Linked DNA regions of Homo sapiens: region 2 is linked to region 1. Evidence: promoter capture Hi-C in 16 types of primary human blood cells and fetal thymus (Javierre and others, 2016). All regions are on one chromosome and are shown on one strand. Each heading gives the region's core, a stretch centred on a gene start or on the middle of the fragment in contact. The rest is flanking DNA. Distances are from core to core; before and after follow the strand shown.

Region 1 (6,240 bases), core at 1,990-4,489:
GTGCGACTTGTGGAAACATTACTTCCTTGTTAATGGTTATGATTTATGTCAGGTAAAGATAAGAAATTAGATGGCAAGTCAGTGGGGAGACAGGTCAGACTGATGCCTGCCAAGGCCCTGAGTGGTTTCACTCACTTATTCCAAACTATCTGCAGAGCTCCAACTCAGTAAGGGCATATGCTAGGTGTTTGGGAAACAATGAAAAACCGGGCAGGGAACTTTGCCCTTAAGGCAGTTAATCAACAATACAGAAGGATCCCATCCCTCTGCTGCAAGCCCCTGGCAGCCCCAGGCCTGCACGTCACAGAGGACAGAAGTACAACACGGGAAAGGCTCAAGAGGGCACACCCACCCCTCTCGATTTGGAGGGTTGGGAGGCCACCTCCACGGGGCCCTCACTGCTCCTTGGCAAACCTTTTCAATACTGAAAAAGATCTCTCCACCCCTTGCAGAAAATTACCGAGAGGGGAGGATGAGCCTCAATTGCAAGACAAGCTAAGCAATGGTCTCAGCCACGTGTCGACAGAGTTCTGTTGAGCCCACCTGTGGGTACTCCGCCTCGGGGCCGAAGACACAGCTGAGCTGCACGTGATGACAGCTGAACCCACAAGGGCATAAAATCTACCAGCAAGTGTTCAACGCATAGGCAAGAGGAGGAGGAACTGCCAAAACCCAAGTCCAGGAACTCAGGATAGAGGCCAGACAGATGAGGAGGGCATCTACTTTCCTGAATTTCAGACCTCACAAGACTAGGTAAGCTGAGGCCTCTGGTAGGAGAAGCCAAAGAGGCATCAACCTGGGAGGCACGAAGATCACAGGTGTGATCACTGCACACTACAGCCTCGAACTCCTGGGCTCAAGTGAACCTCCTGCCTCAGCCTCTTGAGTAGCTGGGACTACAGGCCCACAACACCCTGCCCGGCTCAAGGTCATCTTTTTTAGGTATGGGTGGGGGTCAGGGTACAGGACATGAATTCTTCTGAATGCTCTTGGCTCCAGGAATTTTTCTCAGATCTTCCTCCTCCTCCTCCTCCCCTCCCCCTGGCTGGGCTGGGGTATCACTGCACTTAGAGGCTAAATCACTAAACTCCTCAAGGGCAGGACCCTGTCAATTTTGTTCACTGCTGCCTACCAAGTGCCTAGAACAGTTGGTTACATGAATGGGGGGAAATCGTCTACAAGCTAATCACAGCTGAGGGGCAAATTTCTCAGCCCATCTTTGCAGCTTCATCAGTAAGCATTTGTTGGTCTATTGAGAGCCAGGCTCTGTTCTAGGGACTAAGAACAGGCCGGGCACAGTGGTTCACACCTGTAATCTCAGCATTTTAGGAGGCCAAGGCGGGCAGATCACTTGAGGTCAGGAGTTCAAAACCAGCCTGGCCAACATGGTGAAACTGTCTCTACTAAACATACAAAATTAGCTGGGCGTGGTGGCAGGGGCCTGTAATCCCAGCTGCTCAGGAGGCTGAGGCAGGAGAATCTCCTGAACCTGGGAGGTGGAGGTTGCAGTGAGGCGAGATGGAGCCACTGCACTCCAGCCTGGACAACAAGAGTGAAACTACGTTTCAAAAAAAACAAAAACCAACCAAAAAAAAACAGGGTAGGCAGGACCAAAGATGACTAAATGCAATGCACCATCCTTAACTGAATCCTGGATGAAGGAAAAAAGACAGTTAAAAGAAACATCTTTAGGACAAGTGGGGGCACTTGACAATGCACATTCAATAGAGTTTTATCAAAATTAATTGTCCCACTTCCTGAGTGGGACAATTTATTGAAATGATGTAGTAGGAGAATGCCTTTTTTTTTTTTTTTTCTGAGATGGAGTCTCGCTCTGTCACCCAGGCTGGAGTGCAATGGTGCGATCTCGGCTCACTGCAACCTCCGCCTCCCGGGTTCAAGCGATTCCCCTGCCTCAACGTCCCGAGTAGCTGGGATTACAGGCACCTGCCACCACACTCGGCTAATTTTTGTACTTTTAGTTGAGAGGGGGTTTCCATGTTGGCCAGTCTGGTCTCGAACTCCTGACCTCAAGTGATCTGCCCACCTCGGCCTCCCAAAGTGCTGGAATTACAGGCGTGAGCCACCGCGCCCAGCCAATGCCTTGTTTTTGGGAGATGTGTACTAAAGAATTAAAATGTAAAGGCGAAGTGTCAAAATATCTGCAATTAATTCTCCAATCGCGGGGCTGGGAGGGAAGCATGGGAGCAAACAGAGCAAAATGCTAACTAGTGGTGAATCAAGGTGACGGGCATCTGGGCATTCTGTACCGTGTTCTTGCAACTTTTCTGAAGGTTTGAACTTCTCAAAAGACAAGGGGCAGGGTAGACAGCTGCTGCAGTGTAACTTTGTAGAGAGGAAACTCCCGCGTCTGGAGCTCATTCCCGCGTTTCTTCAGTCCGTCCTCTTTAAGGTCGCCACTCCGGGTCTTGCTTTTAAGCCTCTTCACGGCAACGTTCTCAGCCTCTGACGCCCCATATGCCCGGCGCTGATGAAAGGAACGAATGGGATGCCCGCAGCTACCCTGACAAGTGATTATTCTTATGACGATTTTGCAGAGAAGAAAATTGCGTCTGGGCCGAGTCGATACGATCACAAGTTGGCGGGGCAGAGATTCGAACCCACATCTAAGGACGAGCTCTGGGCCTGACTGGTCCGCACCGCGTCCCTGCATCAGTAACGAGGGGTCGACGCCTCCAGGGCCAGCGTTCCAGAGCTCCGGCCCGAACCGCCCACCGCGTACGGGCGTCACCTGGAATGTCTAATGCCGACGTTGTACCCTCACGAAAACCCCATCTGAGAAGGGGAAACCGAGGATTCATCGCAAGGCCAGAAGGTGGCCTCTCGCCGCCGGACCCCGGCGCCCGCACGCTCCCCTAGAACCGCTTCCTCCCCAGCCAGCGCAGGCCAGGGTCCAGCCGCGTTGCCGCGGAAACCGCCTCCCAGCACCACCCGCGGCAGTTAAGCCAACGCATGCGCAGCCGCGGGGGGCGCCCGGGGGCGGGGTGCCGATGAGAAGCCGCCGGGGGCTGCCGGGTACTTTTCTGTCCAGAAACTCGACGCCGTCCTGCCCCAGCCCAGCCCGACCCCCGTTTTCCTGTACCTGTTGGTAAGAGAATCGCTGCTGCTCCTCGGTCTCCGCCTCCTCCTCCATCACTGCGGGCCGACCCTGGGCAAACGCAGGAGGGCCGAGAAGGGGCGGTGGTGCGCGGCCAGGTCGGATTTTCCCGCCGCGGCGCGAGCGACGGGCCGCGCGGGCGGACAAAGTACGCAGCTCCGCCCTGCCTCGCGCGCCCCCTGGCGGCGCTCCGTTGAGGGGATTCCGCCGTCGGCCTCCAGCCAGCCCCCTGCTCAGCTTGCTCTGCGGAGGTGGCCGGGCGACGCGGGGACATGACCACCGAGGTCACTGCTGCACCCCAGAGCCTGATTCAGCGCCTGGCACAACGCTGAGCACCACTCTCCGCGAAACACGTGTGCGCATAGGTGCAAAGCGTGTTCCAGTCGGGTGTAGAGGATGCGTAGCCCACGATTTACAGATCATGTAACGCAGTACACATTATCAGGAGCTCCATGCACCTGTACCTCAGGTGTATCTTGCAAAATCGACCATCAACTTTATCATTCTATCACCAACAATAGCGTCACAAAGACTACAATGAGTGAACGACCCGTGACCTCATTCAGCGAGTGGAACAGGAACTGCGTTGTTGCCATTGGCAGGAGTATAGTTCTGACACAAGTGTTACTGTTTTTCCTTTATGTTAACGATGAAGTGAGACCATCAAACCCAATTTTGGTTTGTTTTTATTGTAGTTTTTTGAGAGGCAGGGTCTCACTCTGCCGCCCAGGCTGGAGTGCAGTGGCACCACCAAGACTCACTGTAACCTCCACCTCCTGGGCTCAGGTGATCCTCCCACTTCAGCCTCCCAAGTAGCTGGGACCACAAGCCTGCATCAGCGCACCTGGCTAATTTTTATTTTTTGTAGAGACCAGGTCTCACTATGTTGCCCAGGCTGGTATCAAACTCCTGGCTTCAAACAATCATCCCACCTCAGCCTCCCAAAGTGCTGGAATTACAGGTGTGAGCCACCATGCCCTGCCTGTATTTCTAGGTTTTTGTTTTATTATTTTTTATTGCCTATATTTCTGTATTCTGCATTTGTCACAAGCAGGTGCTACTTTCAGAACGAAGGAAAGCACATAAAGCCACTCCTTGTCTTCCTTTCCCAGGGACGTCCCTCAAGTTCCCTAAGCTTGCCAGGGGCTGAAACCCAGATCAAAGCTTTTTGGAGGAATCAGCCTTCTGAGGACTTTCCTCTGCATCTGCTCAGTGGGTGGCATCTGGAAATGACAGGCACTTCTCGCCTCTGTCCACTGCTCTCTGTGGGCATCCCAGTCTACCTGGACAGTCCTCCTGCCCAAGCAGGGCAAGCCTCTGACGGATTCCCCTAATGGGCAGCATGGGGCTGGGCAGGGCAGGCCATCCAGAGTGAGACCAAGCCTGCAGCAGGAGAGAAGGCCGGTCGCTGGTTGGTGAGCAGCCCCATTTAGAGCACACTGTGGCTGCAAAGCCCAGCTCCCTCCCTTGAGCCTGGTGACCCCAAGCAAGTCACAGGACGTGGCCAAGCTTCATGTCCCTTATTTATCAACTGGGGACAGTAGTTCCAACTTCACAGGGCAGGTGTCAGGTTTTAAACAATTGCCTCACATAAGAGCTAAAGAAATTGTAACAATTCGTCCCAGGAAGTTCCTGTGCTTTGTACCTGTGTGTTCCCTCATTTTAAAGCAGTTGCTTCCCAGGATTAAAGAACAGTATTCCAGTGACATGTGTGCAATACAGAGGCACTTAAGAGCCTCAGAGGCTAGGAGCAGTGGCTCATACCTGTAATTCCTGCACTTTGGGAGGCCGAGGCAGGTAGATCACTTGAGGTGAGGAGTTCAAGACCAGCCTGGCCAACATGATGAAACCCTGTCTCTACCAAAAAATACAAAAATTAGCCAGACATGGTGGCACATGCTTGTAATCCTAGCACTTGGGAGGCTAAGGCAGGAGGATTGCTTGAACCCGGGAGGTGAAGGTTGCAGTGAGCTGAGATCGCACCATAGCACTCCAGCCTGGGCAACAGAGCGAGACTCTGTCTCAAAAAAAAAGGTCTGAGAAATAGGTCGAGGGTTGAGGTATTCATTACAGAAAATGGAACTGGGTGTGGTGGTTCAAGCCTGTAATCCCAACACTTAGGGAGACCAAGGCAGGAGGATCACTTGAGCCCAGTTCAAGGCTATGGTGAGCCGTGATTGCCCCACTGTTTTCCAGCCAGGGTGACAGAGGGAGACACTGTCTCTAAAAAAAATAATGAAAAAAGGATATATTAATATTTGGTTGAAACTTACTTGATGAAGAAGTAGCCCTATAATCTGGCCACTAGATGTCAGTGTTGCACTACAGCGTGAAGCAAGGCCAGGGATGCCCGCTGGCAATGTTGCCATGACACTGAGCACTTTGCACTTGTCCTCGCTCTAGGCACTCATTTAATATCTCATCTGCCCTCAAAAGTAGGTGCTGTTAGCCCCATTTTACATGAGGAAACAGGTGAAAGAACTCTGCCCAAGGCTAAACTACTGGGAAGTGATAGAGACCAGATTTGATTATTAGGCTGGTTTCCGAGTTTCCGGTTTATCCACTGCCCTCACCATAAATAAGACAAAGACCTTGGTGGGTTTCTTTAATCCTTTTCATCTGCATTAAGGAGGGTTCCATAAATATTTAGTTCAGCCGGGCGTGGTGGCTCACGCCTATAATCCCAGCACTTTGGGAGGCCGAGGCAGGCGGATCACCTGAGGTCAGGAGTTCGAGACCAGCCTCAACATGGAGAAACCCTGTCTCTACTAAAAATACAAAATTAGCCAGGCGTAGTGGTGCATGCCTGTAATCCCAGCTACTCGGGAGGCTGAGGCAGGAGAATCGCTTGAACCTGGGAGGCGGAGGTTTTGCGGTGAGCTGAGATCGTGCATTGCACTCCAGCCTGGGCAAACAAGAGCGAAACTTGAAGGGGTGGGTTGCCCCTCCACACCTGTGGGTGTTTCTCGTTAGGTGGAACGAGAGACTTGGAAAAGAAAAAGACACAGAGACAAAGTATAGAGAAAGAAATAAGGGGGCCCAGGGGACCAGCGTTCAGCATATGGAGGATCCCGCCGGCCTGAATTCCCTTAGTATTTATTGATCATTCTTGGGTGTTTCTC
Region 2 (3,626 bases), core at 1,127-3,626, 59 kb after region 1:
TGAGTTGCAGAGAGCTCAGCTGAGGAGACAAGCTGGCTTCAGAAAGTTAACTCTGCGTTCAACTGGTGTCATCCTTCTGAAGTTATGAAAGGAAATTGATCATTGATGGCCACTGGGTCACACAATCTCTCTGCCTATATTAAAGCCCTCTGAACACATTATCTGGAATAGGAACTCTACTCCTTTATATGTTTCTTTTTAGTCCCATGGCCACACCAAAAGCGATGTTTCTCAAAGTGTGCTCCCAGCCAGCAGCATCAGCTTCACCTGGGAAACTGTTCAAAAACTCAAATTTTTAGACTCCAAGCCAGACCTACGGAACGAGAAACTTTGGGTGGGGTTGAGCCATGGGGGCTTCAACAAGCCTCCCAGGGGATGATGATGTACACTGAAGTCTCAGAGGCCCACTGCCTTAGAAAATGGCAGAAAAAGCAAACAAATGGGAAGACCCAGGGTTCCTGAACGGCTGTGCAGAGAAGACCTGCACCACTGACCTGGACCTGGACCAGCCCTCTTGACTACTGTGTGAGAAATAAATTCCTATACTCTGTATTGCTAGATATCTTTGTAGAGTAACATAGCATTGTATCTCACTAAATCTAAAAAGCCCATTTTAACTTTTTCTCATACTTCATTCTTTTTTTTTTTTGAAATCAAGTTAGCCAGGTGCAGTGGCTCACACCTGTAATCCCAGCACTTTGGGAGGCCGAGGTAGGCAGATCACCTGAGGTCAGGAGTTTGAGACCAGCCTGACCAACATGGCGAAACCCCGTCTCTACTAAAAATACAAAAATTAGCTGGGCGTGGTGGCAGGCCCCTGTAATCCCAGCTACCCAGGAGGCTGAGGCACGAGAATTACTTGAACCCGGGAGGCAGAGGTTGCAGCACTCCAGCCTGGGCGACAGAGTGAGACTCTGTCTCAAAAAAAAAAAAAAAAGGCCGGCGCAGTGGCTCACGCCTGTAATCCCAGCACTTTGGGAGGCTGAGGCTGGCAGATCATGAGGTCAGGAGACCAAGACCATCCTGGCTAACACGGTGAAACCCCATCTCTACTAAAAATACAAAAAATTAGCTGGGTGTGGCCGGGTGCAGTGGCTCACGCCTGTAATCCCAGCACTTTGGGAGGTCGAGGCGGGTGGATCATAAGGTCAGCAGTTTGAGACTAGCCTGACCAAAATGGTGAAACCCGATCTCTACTAAAAATAAAAAAAAAAATAGCTGGGCATGGTGGCGGGTGCCTGTAATCCCAGCTACTTTGGAGGCTGAGGCAGGAGAATCACTTGAAGCTGGAAGGTGGAGGTTGCAGTGAGCCAAGATTGCACCACTACACTCTGGCGTGGGCAACGAGAGCAAAACTCCATCTCAAAAGTAAATAAATAAATAAAATAAAATAAAAAATTAGCTGGGTGTGGTGGCGGGCACCTGTAGTCCCAGCTACTCGGGAGGCTGAAGCAGGAGAATGGCGTGAACCTGGGAGGCGGAGCTTGCAGTGAGCCGAGATTGCGCCGCTGCGCGCCAGCTTGGGTGACAGCTCTGTCACCCAAGCTGGCGCGCAGCGGCGCAATCTCGGCTCACTGCAACCTCCGCCTCCCAGGTTCAACCAATCTTCCTGCCTCAGCCTCCCCAGTAGCTGGGATTACAGGTACATGCCCCTATGCCTGGCTGATTTCTTGCTCTGTCACCCAGGCTGGAGTGCAATGGTGCAACCATGGCTCATTGCAGCCTCAACCTCCCGGGCTCAAGCAATCCTCCCATGTGAGCCTCCTGAGTAGCTGGAACCGCAGGCGCATGCCATCATGTCCAACTATTTTATTTATTTTTTGTAGAGATGGGGGTCTCCCTATGTTGCCCAGGCTGGTCTCAAACTTGTGGGCTGAAGCAATCCTCCCACCTCAGCCCCTGAAAGTGCTGGGATTACAGGTATGAGCCACTGCACTCAGCCACCATTTCTTAAATTGGGATTCATCTTATAATTGATGGCATGCTTAAGTTAGTTGTCAGTGCTTTTTCTTCTTCTCTTAGTGGCACAGAATAGTCCCTACAGTCTGTGGCATCCTAAATTTAATGAAATTACCTGGTTGTGTTATTTTCTCCAGCCACCTTTGCCTGTGTCAGTGTTGGTACAATAAGATAGACAGGTGGATGATAACCAGGTGAGCATAATTGATGGAGATGCACAAGAGGGTGTGTTGCAAAGAACGGATTATGATGATGAATCATGGACTCTAGACTACATTTGTCTTTTTTTTATTTTTTTTAGGGACAGGGTCTTGCTCTGTCGCCCAGGGTGGAATGCAGTGGTGCAATAATAAAACCTCACTGCAACCTTGAACTCCTGGATTCAAGCGATCCTCCCACTTCAGCCTCCCGAGTAGCTGGGACCACAGGCACAGACCACCACGCCTGGGTATCTTATTTATTTTTTGTAGAGACAGCATATCGCTATGTTGCCCAGCCTGGTCTCGAACTCCCAGCCTCAAGCAATCCTCCTGCCTTGGCATCCGAAAGTGCTGGGAGCCACCTCACCTGGCCTTGTCTTTATTTTTCTTACCTACATAATTTGCTGTGGAATCAAAATATTTTTTTCCAAAACAGTTTCAAAATATTTTTCCCAAGATAGCACTTCCTATGTCTGGTATTATGACTGGGGAGACAAGCAGGGGTAGGAATGGAGGATAAAACTAGCAGAAAGGGATGAAGAAGACAGTCATGATGAGTTGATGATGCAGAAGGTTAGTAAGCTATGATGTGAAGAGATGCCAGTAGCTAGCACCTCTCCAGTCACTGTGATAGCCAAAAAGGCTCCCACACATTTCCAAATGCTGCCTAGGGAGAAGGTGCTGCCTTCAGTCAAGAACCATTGAGCTAGAGGAAGGTTGACATTTACCTTGGTTCTTAGATTGACTTCTCTCAGTGAAATCTGGGTACTTACTTCTGATCCAGAGAGTTGCTCCTAGAGTCTACCAGAGAGGGACAGGTGGAGGAGGGAGTGAGGGTGGCACTGCTGAAACTGGACTCAGAGGGATCCCGTCCAATTGGAGAGATATCAGACAACTGGAAGCAAACCGAACACTACAAGTTACATTCAGCTGAAAAAAGCTGCCTCTACAGTAACAATAGGGAGTTTCAACAACCAGAACCTCACTTTGATACATCTTGTTTCAGAAGGTCATTTAAGAAAACAAGCCTATACATAATTTATCAATAAATAAATACATAGGTAAAATTTTAAGAGACAAGGCCTTGCTCTATTGCCCAGGCTGGAGGGCAGTGATGCAATCCTAGCTTCCTGTGGCCTCCAACTCCTGGGCTCCAGCGATCCTCCTGTGCCCTGGCTTCCTGAGTACCTGGGACTACAAGCGTGTACCACCACAACTGGTGAAAATATTTTCAAAAAAGAAAAAAAACAAGCCTACAAATATTTTACGGCCTAAGTGCCACACCAGGAATCAAGACATTTATAAAAGGGGCAAGGTTGGTTTTTTATGTTCCTACTGCCCTCCTGCATTATTATTATTGTTGTCATTATTATTATTATTATTATTATTATTTTCTTTCTCGAGATAAGGTCTTGCTATGTCTTCTTCTTCTTCTTCTTCTTATTATTATTATTATTATTATTTTCT

Evidence for each region. Contacts are between HindIII fragments. The CHiCAGO score rates a contact against its expected background, and 5 or more counts as called.
Region 2: a fragment that was not itself captured here is called in contact with the fragment with the promoter of CENPS in region 1 in 1 of 17 cell types (neutrophils); the score reaches 5.1 in neutrophils.

What each region holds. Positions count from the first base shown.
Region 1 is chr1:10,427,432-10,433,671 of GRCh38, reverse strand. It overlaps CENPS (centromere protein S), which reads right to left and starts at 3,239. Exons shown (of 5, transcript NM_199294.3): 1 at 3,104-3,239. The coding sequence starts at 3,154. CENPS-CORT (CENPS-CORT readthrough) reads right to left here and starts at 3,239. Exons shown (of 4, transcript NM_199006.3): 1 at 3,104-3,239. The coding sequence starts at 3,154. RefSeq lists enhancers at 1-516, 2,592-2,641 and silencers at 2,892-3,141, 5,306-5,600. The HindIII fragment of the contact is 4,555 bases long and covers 1-4,255 here.
Region 2 is chr1:10,370,569-10,374,194 of GRCh38, reverse strand. It overlaps KIF1B (kinesin family member 1B), which reads right to left. Exons shown (of 49, transcript NM_001365951.3): 45 at 2,933-3,054. Among named protein-coding and RNA genes, the nearest start is that of PGD, 27 kb to the left of the region's middle. The HindIII fragment of the contact is 9,462 bases long and covers 1-3,626 here.